Regions from separate parts of the Homo sapiens genome. Here regions 2, 3 and 4 are each linked to region 1. Evidence: promoter capture Hi-C in 16 types of primary human blood cells and fetal thymus (Javierre and others, 2016). All regions are on one chromosome and are shown on one strand. The core of a region is centred on a gene start or on the middle of the fragment in contact, and the rest is flanking DNA. Distances in the headings are between cores, read along the strand shown. Region 1 holds the start of WWP2 (WW domain containing E3 ubiquitin protein ligase 2). Region 2 holds the start of VAC14-AS1 (VAC14 antisense RNA 1). Region 3 holds the start of DDX19A (DEAD-box helicase 19A). Region 4 holds the start of AARS1 (alanyl-tRNA synthetase 1).

Region 1 (3,579 bases), core at 381-2,880:
AGATTAGTACAAGTCTTTGAGGCTAATTACGTCATTAGTATTAATTTTAATCAATGGTGATTAAACTGAGCCTTCATTCAACTTGTCCAGAACATCAGTCAAGAATGTCTATTTAAAATGTTCTTGGAGGCCGGGCGCATTGGCTCACGCCTATAATCTGAGCACTTTGGGAGGCCAAGGCAGGTGGATCATCTGAGGTTAGGAGTTTGAGACCAGCCTGGCCAACATGGTGAAACCCCATCTCTATTAAAAATACAAAAATTAGCCAGGCATGGTGGTGGGTGCCTGTAGTCCCAGCTACTCAGGAGGCTGAGGAAGGAGAATTGCTTGAACCTGGGAGGCAGAGGTTGCAGTGAGCCAAGATTGAGCCACTGCACTCCTGCCTGGGCTACAAGAGTGAAACTCTGTCTCAAGCAAGCAAATAAATAAATAAATAAATAAATAAATAAAGTTATTGGGCAGGCACAGTGGCATTCGCCTGTAGTCTCAGCTACTTGGGAGGCTGAAGCAAGAGGACTGCTTGAAGCTGGGAGTTCGAGCCCAGCCAAAGCAACCTATCCAGACCCATCTCTTAAAAAAAATATTTCTCTGCCAGGTGCGGTGGTTCATGCCTGTAATCCCAGCACTTTGGGAGGCCAAGGTGGGCGGATCATTTGAAGTCAGGTGTTCGAGACCAGACTGGTCAACATGGAGGAACCCTGTCTCTACTAAAAATGCAAAAATTAGCCAGGCGTGGTGGTGCACGCCTGTAATCCCAGCTACTCGGGAGGCTGAGGCAGGAGAATTGCATGAACCGGCGAGACGGAGGTTGCAGTCAGCTGAGACTGCACCACTGCACTCCAGCCTGGGCGACAGAGCGAGGCTCCATCTCAAAAAAAAAAAAAAAAATATCATCTATCTATCCACCTACCTACCTACCTACCTACCTGGATTATAATTCATTAAGTTCTCTGTGCCCTGTAGTTGTAGATTAAGGGAATGCGATTGGATTAGTGTGGAGGGGCTTTTTATGGAGCCAAGCAGGAGTTTTTAAGCTTTTGTACTTTTGCTTCATGTCACAAGGACAGATGCCCCACAAAGGCTGAGATGTTTGTGGTCCTGGATCTTAGAACAGTGCCTGGCACATAATAGGCATAAGGTTGCCAGGAAATAGAAATACAGATACTCAATTCAATTTGATCTTCAGATAATCAAAAAATACTTTTTTTAGTATAAATATGTCCCATTCTGTATTTGGGACATACATATTACACTGTTGTTTATCTGAAATTCAAATTTAAGTGGGTGTCCTGTACTTTATCTGGCAACCCTACTAAAGGAGCTCAATTAAGTATTTGCTGACTTAACAGTCTGAAGGTCTCGTTTCACCTGTAAAATGGGGCTAGTACCTGTCCCTGCCTCTATAAGGTTGATGGGCAGAGTAGGTGGCATTCAGTGAGCCCTCAATTTATTTGATTGCCTGGGACCATCCGGTGAGCAGAAACCCTTCCACTTTCAACTACAGAGACGATAAAAAGGCCTCCTCGAGGCCAGAGGTGCCCAGGCCAGGCCTAGGTGGCCCGCACCTGCGAGCCTGGCCAGCCTCTTCCGGGTCAGGTGACCGCGCGCGGTCACGTGACCCGGCCCGAGTGCGGGCGGTGGAAGGCGGAAGTAGGAGAGGAGTTCGGCGCCGCTTCTGTGGCCACGGCAGGTAGCGAGCGCTGGCGCGGGGGGCGCGGTGGGCTGGCTGCCTGCACGGGGCGGGCCGGGGGCGGCGGGCGGCGCGGGGTGGGCCGGGGGCGGCGCGGCCCGGGCGTCGGGGGGCGGCGGCTTCCTGTGGGAGGGGCCTGGCGCGGCGGTTCCGGCCTCCGAGGAGGGGTGTCCCGGCTCCCGCCCGAGTGGGGTGGGCGCGCCGCGGCCCGCGCGGGGGTTGCTCCGAAATGGGTGCCCCGGCCGCCAAGGGTGCAGCTGGAGCGAGTCCTCCCGGAAGGGGAGAGGAGCTTAGGTTCCCAGGCATGGAGAGGAGCGATCTTTGTGGAGGGATCGGGACCAGGGGAAGGGGCGACTTGGAACTGAGCTGGAAGGGGGTGCCTGAAAATGGGTTTATGGCGTGGAGCCAGAGGGAAAAAGATGCTGCCTGGACCCCCTCTGAGAGTCTCTCCCTTCCTTCCTGTTTGGAAATGATTGTTACCCGAGACTTTGATGACGGTCCCATTCAGTTTTTAAACTTCAGGAGGGATCACAGAATCTTGATCGTCTTGCTTCCCTCGCGCCCACTTAGTCCTGCGTGGGTAGGGTTTCCACTTCTTGGGAGCCTAGCCCTTCAGCTCATTTTTCTTTGAGATTTTCCCTGAACGGGCCATCATCGAGGCTTTAAAAAACAAAAAAAGAAAATAAATTAAAAAAATAAGTGTGGGCACTTTGCCTGTAAAATGGCTTTTAGCTTACACTGTTGACCTAGCCCAGCGTTACCTCAGCAACATAGTGACTGCTGAAATCTTGGACAGAGAAGTGTCTACCTAGACTGCTTTATGACTTTTCTCTTTCTTCCGTTTAAATTATTCAGTTTCCCTTAGCTTATCTTGTGACTGCTTATCTTGACGAACTGTAACTAGGTAGGGTGCCTGAGAGGTCTGTGTTATGTTCCTTAGAACTGTGACCTGGATCATGATTTTGAGATTGAATACTTGTGTTAAAGCCTGTTCATCTTCCTGTTTCTCATGTTTACTAAAATTTGCAGAAGCAAAAGGAGTTTCATGAGTGCAGTGTAACTGGAACGAATGTTCAAACTGGACATTCACAGCAGCCAGCATCGTTTTGGGTTACAAGTAGGAAAAAGTACTTTCCTAATGTATTATGAGTTCAAGTTTTTGGAGTTATTTGACAAACATTTAAAAATTAGTTTTTGCAGCAGCGCCTATGAGTGAGGTTGGGAAGATGTATTCTCATTTCACAGGGAACAAACAGACTTACGAGAGACGACTTGATTTTTTAAAACAATTTATTGCTCTTTCTTGTTTGCTGGCCTCTTCCTGCTAGATTGCAAATCCTTCAAGGGCAGGTTTCATATTTTATTTGGCTGCTAGCCTAGTGCCTGGCATGTTGTGAGCACTTGATAAATATTTGGTGAATAAATGCATTTCTAAAAGTCACACCGGCGTAAGTGGTGACAAAGGATTTGAACCCAAGTCTTCTACTCTTTTTCTTGTCAGAGAAGCTTGTGATTATCTGTGTCATTGGTCCATATGAAAACAGGCTCGAGAGAAAGGCTTGGATTGGCTTCTCAGTCTCTTTCACTTCATGATTACTTTCCCATTTACAAAGAGCGTATACCAACATCTCACTTAACCTTCCCTTTGAAATTGGGATGGTCAGTATTGTCCCTATATCACATGAAGAGACTGAGGCTTAATGAAGTCCTTACTTTAGATTTCAGAGCTAGTAAATGAGTAGGGACTCAAGCCCAGACCCTTAATCCTTAGATCCATTCTTTTTCATTTATTGACACAATAGAAAATTTTATTTTTATTTTATTTTGAGACAGGATCTTACTCTGTTGCCCAGGCTGGAGTGCAGTGGCACAATCACGGCTCACTGTAA
Region 2 (3,579 bases), core at 607-3,106, 990 kb after region 1:
AAGCCAGTGTGAAAATGGTGGGTCTCATTAGCAGTGGGGGGACGGTCCCAGTCCTCTACATCTCTGGGCTCACCTGGGCTCACCCAGGCTCACCCAAGCTCCTGCCAGTCTGTGGGCCTTGTGACTTGCCAACAGGGAGGTGCCTGGGAAATCCAGCTGATTCAGCCTTGGCCATCTCCAGAGGAGGAAAAATCAACACATGACTTGCAAGAAATTTTGGCTTCTGAGGACGCAGGAACGCTAAGTGGGGTGAAAACCGGGGGCCCTGGCTTGGCTGCCTCGCCTAGGGCTGCATGGAGAGGGCACCAGGGCTGAGAGCTGGGGGTATATGGCCTACAGTCTCTAAGCAAGATCTCACGCTGGTCTGTATCTGTGCTCCCAGAGATGTGCACCAAACCCACTGGGAAGCATGTGAAAAATACCAGCCCCTGGGCACCCGGGCTCTGCTTGAGGGACGACTGAGGAAGGCCGGGAGTGAGGCCCAAGCAGCTGGATTTTAAAAGCTCCAGGGAATTCTGGTGACAGTCCTGGTTTAGATGGCTCTGCTGTGTGGCTTGAGCCGGGGCTGGATAGTGTGCTCAGTCCTGCAGGCAACTCGCCCTGCAGCTTGGCTCTAGGAGGTGTGAGTGAGAGCGCCCATTCCTGCCTCAGGGAAAGGCTGGCTGGGCTGGCTCCTCTTTGTGGGGTTCCTCCTACCCCAGAGGCCCTGCCGCTGGGAGAGCCGCCTCCCTTTCCACCATGCTTCTCAGCCCAACCTCTGCCTTCACCAGGAGCTAGGCAGCACCCTCCTGGCCCCCAATCCATTCATACCAGTTACTGTGCCCAGCTCTGGGTCCTCACTGGTCCATCTGCCCAGGGCAAGGAACATGGAGAGGTAAATACTCAAACCCTCCTGGCACACAGTCCTGTCTTCCCTGCAAGGAGGTGGCAAGGCTGGCCGCAGTTACTCTGGGTCCCCCTGTGCTCTGGGGTGGCTGCTGTGGGCACTGACACCACAAGGTGGGAACATCTGGAAGAATGAGGGGTGGGTAGAGGCCCTCTCAGTGGGTACAGTTCTGGGACTGTTACCTTGCCATTCCCCTCTCTTCCCTAGCAACGATTTGCCGCCAAGCCTCATTTTAGAAGACCACAGTCCTCTCTGAACCCCCAGCAGTGGCTGCTGGTACCTCTGCTGGGCCTGGGACCTAGCTGTCCCCGAGGAGGAAGGCTCAGGGCCGTGGCTGGAGTCTAGCTGCTTTGCTGGCTGGCGGTGGCCCTTCTCCCTGGCACATGACTCCCTCTCACTTGTTCTCAGAAGCCCCCAAAAGAAGCTGCAGGGACAGCCGCGGGGAGAGGGGACAGAGGGCAGTGTCCCCTGCCCACGGCAGGGCCAGGGGAGGGTGCCTCAGGAAGAGGGTCCCCGGGCCATCAGTGCCCACCCAGCTCCTCTCCCCTGCAGGCTGGGCTCTTGCAAGAGGAGTCAAGTTCTTTGGGCACCGACACGGCACCCCTCCATTCTCTGGGCTGAGGCCGTATCTTACTGCGTGATCTGATTTTAAAGATATCTGTGGAATTGAGGTGGGGGTGGAGGGGTGTTTTTGTTTGTTTTGGAGAGTGGATGGAATGAAAATTGGAGGGAAGTGAACACTGAGGCAAGAATCTGAGGAGGAAAAACAAGTACTGTTCTTATGGAAGACTGTCCGCTTCTGAGCAGGCAGCATTAGTATTCCAGGGAGTGGAGTCAGGACCACACAGATTCAGGGCTGGAAGGGATCTCAGACCATCCAGTCCAACCCCAGTACCCTGGGAAGAAAACCGAGGTGAGGCGGTGTCATGTGACCTGCCTGGTCCCGTGGAGAGCCGGGCAGCGTGGGGGCAGAGGCTGGCCCTCCTGATCTGCACCCAGGCGGCTTCTACACCACCCTGCAGCAGGCCTGGCCACCGGCCTCAGCGCTTCTGGGAGAAGGTCAGCCAGGTGGAAGATGGAGAGGGCTTCTGGACTGAGCCCTGGAGGGGGGCTAGGGGCCACCAGGTCAGTGAGCAGCCAGGGACAGCCCATGGGGCCTGGGAAGGAAGGTGCAGGAGAATGAGGTCAAAGTTAAATGCACAGAGGGAGAAGGTGCATTTAGAACTGAAGGTCAGCCAAGGACAAAACCCTATGGGGTCAGCGGAGGGCCTGGGCCTGGATAAGGCAGTGCCTCCACCCTGGGCCGGGTCCCTGCTCTGCAGTGAGGTGACACCTTGTGTGAGGTTTTAGATGCTCTGGAATCAGACAGATTTGACTGTCAATTCTGGCTGACAGTGTGACCTTAGGCAAGTGATCCTCCTCACACCTCGGGGTAACTAAGATCACTCCTGGACCACCATGTGGATTCATTAAGACACAGATGCAATGCACTCAGAATGGGGCACAAGCCCCGCAGACTTCAGCTGGGGCCCTCTCCTCCTCCTAGTCTCCTCCCACTGATACGAGGGGTTGACACATGACCCACCACGGTTCCTAAAGAAAGCTGCAGCGGGGGTGGTGGAGGGGCCGTCATTGGCTCTCTAAGCTGCCCTCAAATGAAGGGGCCTCTACTTTAGTGGAAGCCCCCATTTTGGGGTAGACACTGAGGGATGGCAGTAACAGCTCCTCTCTTTGGGGGACGGGAGAGAGCAGCCCCAGCCACCTGGGAACCTAGGGGCACTCTGCTTCCTCCCACCATTCCTCACAGCACAGCTCGGGGGTTTGGGGCTTCCCCCAGGTGGGACCCCAGGCCAAAGTCCGTGTCATCAAGAATTAAATCCCTTTAAAGCAGGCAGATGAGCCCTGGGACCCAGCTGGCCAACCCACCTGACCACGGTGACAAGGACTGCTTGGGAAGGATAAGGTAAGGGAGTACATCTGTGGACCGGATGGCATGAGGCTGGAGAAGGAAAGGGGCACGCTGGGGTGATACACAGGGCTGCTTCTGCCCTGAGGCAGGAAGCCAGGCAGCCTCACCCCAGCTCTGCTCTGCTCTGCTCTGGGCTGGGCTGAGGCTCCAGGCAGGCGTGGCAGCAGCAGTGGCACTGCCAGCCCAAGTTGGGCCGTTCCTCTGGGCTCCTAGGCAAGCCCCGATCTGCTTCTCTTTCTGGCAACTCGGCCTGGCCCCAGTGAGTGCTCTCCTTTCAGATCTCTGAACCTCCTGAGTTTTTCCGATCCATTTCTCCTGGGACCTGCACCATGAAAACAAATGAACTCTCCCCTTCCTCCCCTACCAAAGCAAATCGCACCTTAAAATACAGTCTAGGGCATGGCAGGGGGTGCTTCCCAGCGCCTACCCTGCTGGTGAGGGGCTGAGAGGCCCAAGACCAAGGAGGGCTGGATAGGGCATCTGCCACCAGTGAAGAGCCCCTCAAGGCGCCCCATTCCTCTCCCCTCAGGACTCAGCAGAGGCTGGGACAGCCCTTGGGGTTCTACCCCATGGGTCAGGCACTTCTGCTACCTGTCCTCAACCCAGGTACCACTGGGTTGGGGAGGCACCGGGCCACCTTGGACCGGGTACATCGCTGTACCCATGGTGTACCTTACGAAACTTACAACAAAAGCTCCTTTTCAGATGCCCTTACACCACTCCC
Region 3 (3,579 bases), core at 587-3,086, 580 kb after region 1:
ATACCATGATATTTTAAATGCACAAGTTCTCACACAAAAATTAGCCAGGGGTGGTGGCGAAGTGCTATATTCCCAGCTGCTGGGGAGCTGAGGTGCGAGGATCACTTGAGTCTGGGAGATCAAGGCTGCAGTGAGCTGTGAACGTGCCACTGCATTCCAGCCTAGGTGACAGAGCAAGACCCTGTCACAAAAAACAAACAAAAACAGTTATTCTTCCTTGGGAACTGCTTATAAAAAAGAAAAAGCAGGTCAGCACTGTGGCTCACACCTGTAATCCCAGCACTTTGGGCGGCCCAGGCAGGCAGATCCTTGAGCTCAGGAGTTCAAGGCCAGCCTAGCCAACGTGGTGAAACTCCATCTCTACTAAAAATACAAACATTATCTGGGCGTGGTGGCGTGTGCCTGTAATCCCAGCTACTTGGGAGGCTGAGGCAGGAGAACCGCTTGAATCCAGGAAGCAGAGGTTGCAGTGAGCCAAGACCCGGCCACTGCACTCCAGCCTGGGTGATATCTGTAAATAATGGTTCCATGAGTTTAGAAATACAAAGTAGCATGACTTAACAAATTTACACATCTATGTAACCAGGTCCCAATCAAGATACAGAATAATTCTATCACCCAGGAAGTTCTCTTGTGTCTGGACCAAACATCCTTCTCCACAGGTAAGCTCTGTTAGTTTTTATCAGCATAGATTTTATTTGTCCTATTCTTGAATCTCATATAAATAGATTATACATTATGTATTTGGTGGTCCTTCAACATAATGGCCAGGTGTGGTGGCTCATGCCTGTAATCCCAACACTTTGAGAGGCCAAGGCAGGAGGATCTCTGGAGTTAGCAGGAGATCAAAAGCAGCCTGAGCAATATAATGAAGACTTCCGTCTCTGCAAAAAGTTTAAAAACTAGCCAGGAGTGGTGGTGCGGGCCTGTGGGCCCAGCTACCTGGGAGGCTGAGGTGGGAGGTCAAGGGTGCAGTGAGCCGAGATCACACCACTGCATTCCAGCCTGGGCGACACAATGAGACCCTGACTCAAAAAAGAAACGAAAAAACGCATTGTGTGTTGTGTTTATTGGATGGTGGAATTATGGGGTTTACGGGTCTTCTGTTGCGTTTTGGTTTTTGTTTTCTTACCTGTTATCGCGTTCCTAACAGTAGAAATTGGCATCATATAGTATTCTCATGGAACTTTCCTTTGTTCAAAGCCCTACAGTTCAGAGACTTACACATTTAATGTGAGATATGACAGGCTTAAAAAGAAACGTTGGGGGCCGGGCGCGGTGGCTCACGCCTGTAATCCCAACACTTTGGGAGGCTGAGGCGGGAGGATCACAAGGTCAGCAGTTCGAGATCAGCCTGGCCAACATGGTGAAACCCCATCTCTACTAAAAATACAAAAATTAGCCGGGCGTGGTGGCGGGCACCTGTAATCCCAGCTACTCGGGAGGCTGAGGTAGAATAGCTTGAACACGGAGGCGGAGGTTGCAGTGAGTCGAGATCCCGCCACGGCACTCCAGCCTGGGACAGAGCGAGACTCCGTCTCGAAAAAAAATAATAAAATAAATAATAAAATAAATAAAATAAAATAAACGTTGGCTTATTTCAGTGTGAAGTAAGGCAATAAACGGAGGGCTAACAGTTCCACTTCGTAGAGCTCAGACATTTTAAGAAGCGAGGAGGCCGCGTCCTGGAAGGGTGAGCAAAAAGCGCGAGGTTTGCGCACGAAGGGAAAGGCGAGGCCCGAGGAGAGACCTGGCGCCGCGCAGAATGATGATGTCGCACGCTGGGTGGGAACTGACGTCACCTGTGCTCACCGCCGCTTCCGGTCCGCGTGAGGTGCATTCTCGCGCCGGTGGCGAGGTTAGGGCCCGCGTTGCGACGTGGTGCAGCGCATATTTTCACAAGTGGGTCTCCCTTGTCCGGGACTATGGCCACCGACTCGTGGGCCCTGGCGGTGGACGAGCAGGAAGCGGCTGTCAAGTCGGTCAGTAGCTCAGCTCCTGGCGAGGAGGACGTAGCAGGGGCCCAAGCGAAACCTCCCAAAAGCACAGGGAGCTCCCCGGGTTGGGGAGGCCCCTGGGCAACGCGCTCCTGCAGTTTGCTAGGGCAGTCACTTGCCCTTGATTTGCTCTTAGAGCTAAAGAGACCAATGTCGAGCTTTTTATCTCCATCTGGGCTGGTTAAGGACTTCATCCTTTGGTAAATCCGCCCCACTATGCATGCTGTCATTCCTCTATTGACCTCCTCGGTGACGATTATAAGGAAAGCCAAGTTTAGATTCTGATTCTCTTTTTCATTACGCGACTGTTCTTCGCATGTTTCTGTACTACTCTGTATTTAACATTTCTTAGATCCATGCTTAACGTGGTTGGTAGTTTGTAGCTCTTTGCAGAATAACAGATTGACTTTTGGATTTAATACCTCAATCTACTGCAGATGTTGGAAGGAGGCACTACAAATTGTTTCATTGATGTGTAAAGTAACGGTTTCATGTACTTGTTCTTTCAGTAATGAATATTCATTCAACTGGAATGTAATTACAGCATACACTGTGGCTTTCTGTTCTTATATCTAAGACCTAAACTTTAGGTTTGTTTAGTGATAATGGACTGTCTTTTTTTTTGTTGTAGTTGTTTCTCTTTTGAGGCAGAGTTTTGCTCTTGTTGCCCAGGCTGGAGTGCAATGGCGCCATCTCGGCTCACCGCAACCTCCGCCTCCCGGGTTCAAGCGATTCTCCTGCCTCAGTCTCCCGAGTAGCTGGGATTACAGGCATGCGCCACCACGCCCGGCTAATTTTGTATTTTTTGTAGAGACGGGGTTTCTCCATGTTGGTCAGGCTGGTCTCGAACTCCCGACCTCAAGTGATCCGCCCACCTCGGCCTCCCAAAGTGCTGGGATTACAGCCGTGAGTCACCGCGCCCAGCCGGTATGGGGATTTTTGAGAGGGCTATTGACAGAATTAGACAAGGCTGGCAAGGATTTATTGAACTACAGAGAACAGAATATGTTAGAAGTGATGGCTAATAGAAATATCAGTGTAGAAGTTATTCTGATAGCCCCGAGATAGAGGGCCTATGTTGGGCAGTGGAAGTGAAAATTAAGGGATGGGTATAAGATATGAAGGTAGAATGGGTAGGACTTGCTAACATAATAAAGGAGAGAAGGGAGATAAAGCCAAAGGTTTCTGTTTTCAACCTGGATCCTATTGGTACTACTAACGTCCCAATAACAGGAATAGGAAAGTGGGAGGAAGGGCAGATTTGATAGAATGGTGAAGGCAGCCGGGCATGATGGCACCCACCTGTGATCCCAGCACTTTGGGAGGCCGAGGCGGGCAGATCACTCGAGGTCAAGAGTTTGATACCAGCCTGGCCAACATAGTGAAACCCTGTCTCTACTAAAAATACAAAAGTTAGCCAGGCGTGGTAGTCGTCCCCTGTTAATACCAGCTACTCAGGAGGCTGAGGCATGAGAATTGCTTGAACCTGGGAGGTGGAGGTTGCAGTGAGCCAAAATTACGCCACTGCACTCCAGCCTGGGCTACTGAGTGAGACTCTGTCTCAAAAAAAAAAAAAAAAAAA
Region 4 (3,579 bases), core at 345-2,844, 530 kb after region 1:
TGTGCCACCACACCTAGCTAATTTTGTATTTTTAGTAGAGACGGGGTTTCTCCATGTTGGTCAGGCTGGTCTCGACCTCCTGACCTCAGGCGATCTGCCCGCCTCGGCCTCCCAAAGTGCTGGGATTACAGGGGTGAGCTACCGCGCCCGGCCAAGACACTTATTTAAGACAGCCTTCCCCTTCTTCTTTTTTTTTTTTTTTTTTTTTTGAGACGGAGTCTCGCTCTGTTGCGCAGGCTGGAGTGCAGTGGCGCGATCTCAGCTCACTGCAAGCTCCGCCTCCCGGGTTCACGCCATTCTCCTGCCTCAGCCTCCCGAGTAGCTGGGACTACTGGGACTACGGGCGCCAGTCACCACGCCCGGCTATTTTTGTATATTTGGTAGAGATGGGGTTTCACCGTGTTAGCCAGGATGGTCTCAATCTCCTGACCTCGTGATCTGCCCACCTCGGCCTCCCCAAGTGCTGGGATTACAGGCGTGAGCCACCGCGCCCGGCCGCCTTCCCCTTCTTGATAAGGCTCCCCCTCTTTTACTGTCTCACAGCCTCAAGTGTTTCCCTTCATAATTTCCATACGCGCTTCATGGATTGTTTAATGTGCGCCTCCCCCATCAGGCTGTCAGTTCCATCCCAGCAGCAACGACTGTTCTGGGCTCTTTTTTTTTTTTTTTTTTTGAAACGGAGTCTCCCTCTGTCACCCAGGCTGGAGTGCAATGGTGTGATCTCAGCTCACTGCAACCTCCGCCTGCCGGGTTCAAGCGATTCTCATGCCTCAGCCTCCGGAGTGGCTGAGAGTACAGGCGCGCGCCGCCACGCTCGGCTAATTTTTGTATTTTTAGTAAAGACGGGGTTTCACCATGTTGGCCAGGCTAGTCTCGAACCCCTGACCTCAGGTGATCCGCCCGCCTCGACCTCCCAAAGCGCTGGGATTACAGGCGTGAGCCTCCGCGCCTGGCCCTGGGCTATTACAGCACATCCTCAGCATCTAGTACAGTGGCTGCTAAATACGTATTTCGTGATCAGGTATACTAATCCTTTAACACCAAGTTCGGAATTAACTCACATGCTTCAAAGCACACCGAGAAATACAAACTGTTTTACAGAACAGCTTAAGATGACGGTCTCGGTGCGCCTGGACCGGCATCAGCTGTTTAGTTAATTTTAAGAAATCAAGGAATGGCTGGCTTACAGCAGGATTGCACCCAGCTGGCCCATCCTTCCTCCCGTGCCCCCACCCGCCCCTAGGGGATTAAAACCAAGGGAGCTAAAACCCCAGGTTGGCAACCGTGAGGTATTGGTGCTCAGCAAATCCACCCGAGGCCGCGACACTCGCAGCGCTCCCGGGGGCGAACGCAAGGCCACACTGTCCAGCTCCCGCTCCAGCCCAGACTGGGCTTCTCCAGGCCACGCGGGGCCTGATCCTGGGGCCCACTGCGGCTGCGGAGCTTTCCCCCCAGTCTGCGGGCCCAGCCGCTCTCCTAGCACCGCAGAGCTCTCCGAGGGCGGCCTACCTCTCCTAGGGTCGCCGTCCCCAGCTCCTCCCTCAGAGTCCCCCGCCAAGGGCCCGCTGCACCTATTCCCGCAGACGCGCAGCTGTACCGGCCTCAGACCACGACCTACCACAACCCGCCACGCTCCGTCCAATCAGAGCGCGCCGACGGAAAGTGCCCCGCCGCGCCTTACCTCATGAGATATTATTGGTCAACCAACATGCCAGTCAAACTGAGGACGAATCCGTTCATTAGTGGATTCCTGGGAAGGCGGCTCTAACTTGGCTGATGCAACTGCGAGAAAAGGTGGGATGGGGTGCGTCACATGATCGAGTTAGACCCCCCCCCGCCCCCCCCGCCCCCCCCCGCCCCCGGCTCCCGGAGGTCGACATTTTGGTTTCCATAGGCAAAGTCCTAACACCACAATTGACATAGTTAAAAAGGGGAGACGGTAACGTGTTTGGTAGAGGTTACATATCTTGCTATAGTTGTTTATTTTAGTTGCTGAGTGATACACAGCCCTCAAAGAGTCTGACATTGTGCCCATGGTTACACTTGTCCGGGGGAGACCTTGAATTTGGTGTGGAAGAAATAACATCAGTAGTTCAGGTACGATTGGATCAGCATCTGGTCCTCGATTTGCCTTTGGAAAAAAAAAAGTTAATATTTATAGGCCTGGGGGAGGAGGGTGAATATATATATATACATATACATATATACATGCCAGGTGCGGTGGCTCACGCCTATAATTGCAACACTTTGGGAGGCCAAGGTGGGAAGATCACCTGAACCCAGGAGTTGGAGACCAGCCTGGTCAACATAACTAGACCCTGTCTCTACGAAAAATTTTTTAAAAGGCCGGGCGCGGTGGCCCACACCTGTAATCCTAGCACTTTGGGAGGCTGAGGCCAACGGATGACGAGGTCAGGAGACCGAGAGCATCCTGGCCAACATGGTGAAACCCCGTCTCTACTAAAAACACAAAATTAGCCGGGCGCGCATCTGTAGTCCCAGCCACTCGGGAGGCTGAGGCAAGGGAATCCCTTGACCTCGGGAGGCGGAAGTTGCGGTGAGCCGAGATGGCGCCACTGCACTCCAGCCTGGCTACGGAGCAAGACTCCGTCTCAAAAAAAAAAATAAAAAATAAAAATTAGCCAGGCATAGTGGCGCATGCTTGTAGTCCCAGCTACTTGGGAGGTTGAAGTGGGAGGATCACTTGAGCCTAGGAAGTTGAGGCTGCAGTGAGCCCTGATCGTGACACTGCATTCCTTGGGCGACAGAGCGAGGCCCTGTCTGAAAAATATGTATGTATTTATACGTGAGGCATTGCATCAAACATTTCACATGCTTATTTCATTTGATTTTTAAACTGTGTATGAGGTCAGCTGGAGTCCCCTTTTTACAAATGAGGAAATTACCTTGCACAAGTTCACACCCAATAGTAAGTTGTGGAGACAGGATCCAAACCTGTGTCTATTTAACTCCAAAGCCCATGCTCTTAACCACTGCACTATTACCTCCATCATCTGATATATCCAAATACACGGGTAATAAATTGTGCTGCTGGTCATAACTCAAGTTACAGACAATACAGAAAAATACTACTTTTTATGCAAAAAGAGCATCCTACACAAAAAGAAGGTCAAGCCCAAAAGCCAGTAAAAACATAAATCATTTGATTTACTTTCCCACTTCATAGCTGCTCACAAATAGTAATCATCAAACCTACCATTTATTGAGCACTTAGTATACAGCAGGCACCAATCTAAGCTTTTAATCCTCACAACCTTATCATGAGTTACTACTACTATCTGCTTTTAACAGAGTAAAATAAGGCAGAGAGAGAGGTTAAGTAACACAGCTGAGGGCAAAACCAGGAGACACAAGTGTTTATTCTGATCCACAGTGCCCTAAATAACATATATTTAGCTTAAACAATCTGGGAAATGAGTCAGACTTCTAAGCCACCACACTTAAAATAGAAAGCCAAAAGGTATGTATGAATTGTACTTTCAGAATAAAATAATACAGGTTGTAATCTCAATAATTTAGTTCTGCTGCCAGAGTTGTTACTAGGATAGTACCTTCATT

What was found. Contacts are between HindIII fragments. The CHiCAGO score rates a contact against its expected background, and 5 or more counts as called.
Region 2: a contact is called between the fragment with the promoter of VAC14-AS1 here and the fragment with the promoter of WWP2 in region 1, in 2 of 17 cell types (naive CD8 T cells and fetal thymus). The highest score is 5.4, in naive CD8 T cells.
Region 3: the fragment with the promoter of DDX19A here is called in contact with the fragment with the promoter of WWP2 in region 1 in 1 of 17 cell types (neutrophils); the score reaches 6.5 in neutrophils.
Region 4: the fragment with the promoter of AARS1 here is called in contact with the fragment with the promoter of WWP2 in region 1 in 17 of 17 cell types (activated CD4 T cells, total B cells, erythroblasts and 14 more); the score reaches 20.2 in activated CD4 T cells.

Annotation. Positions count from the first base shown.
Region 1 is chr16:69,760,702-69,764,280 of GRCh38, forward strand. WWP2 (WW domain containing E3 ubiquitin protein ligase 2) reads left to right here and starts at 1,631. Exons shown (of 24, transcript NM_001270454.2): 1 at 1,631-1,690. RefSeq lists an enhancer at 1,436-2,014 and silencers at 1,718-1,857, 1,878-2,037, 2,058-2,107. The HindIII fragment of the contact is 2,162 bases long and covers 1,033-3,194 here.
Region 2 is chr16:70,753,239-70,756,817 of GRCh38, forward strand. VAC14-AS1 (VAC14 antisense RNA 1) reads left to right here and starts at 1,857. Exons shown (of 6, transcript NR_034083.3): 1 at 1,857-2,011; 2 at 2,775-2,849. The region is part of intron 12 of VAC14 (VAC14 component of PIKFYVE complex); the gene reads right to left. RefSeq lists enhancers at 1,374-2,014, 2,015-2,655. The HindIII fragment of the contact is 11,858 bases long and covers 1-3,579 here.
Region 3 is chr16:70,345,067-70,348,645 of GRCh38, forward strand. DDX19A (DEAD-box helicase 19A) reads left to right here and starts at 1,837. Exons shown (of 12, transcript NM_018332.5): 1 at 1,837-1,982. The coding sequence starts at 1,926. It overlaps DDX19A-DT (DDX19A divergent transcript), which reads right to left and starts at 1,681. Exons shown (of 5, transcript NR_039997.1): 1 at 1,133-1,681. RefSeq lists enhancers at 837-1,455, 1,456-2,073, 1,592-2,081. The HindIII fragment of the contact is 29,277 bases long and covers 1-3,579 here.
Region 4 is chr16:70,287,912-70,291,490 of GRCh38, forward strand. AARS1 (alanyl-tRNA synthetase 1) reads right to left here and starts at 1,595. Exons shown (of 21, transcript NM_001605.3): 1 at 1,510-1,595. It also overlaps a transcript of DDX19B not described here. RefSeq lists a silencer at 811-940. The HindIII fragment of the contact is 11,417 bases long and covers 1-3,256 here.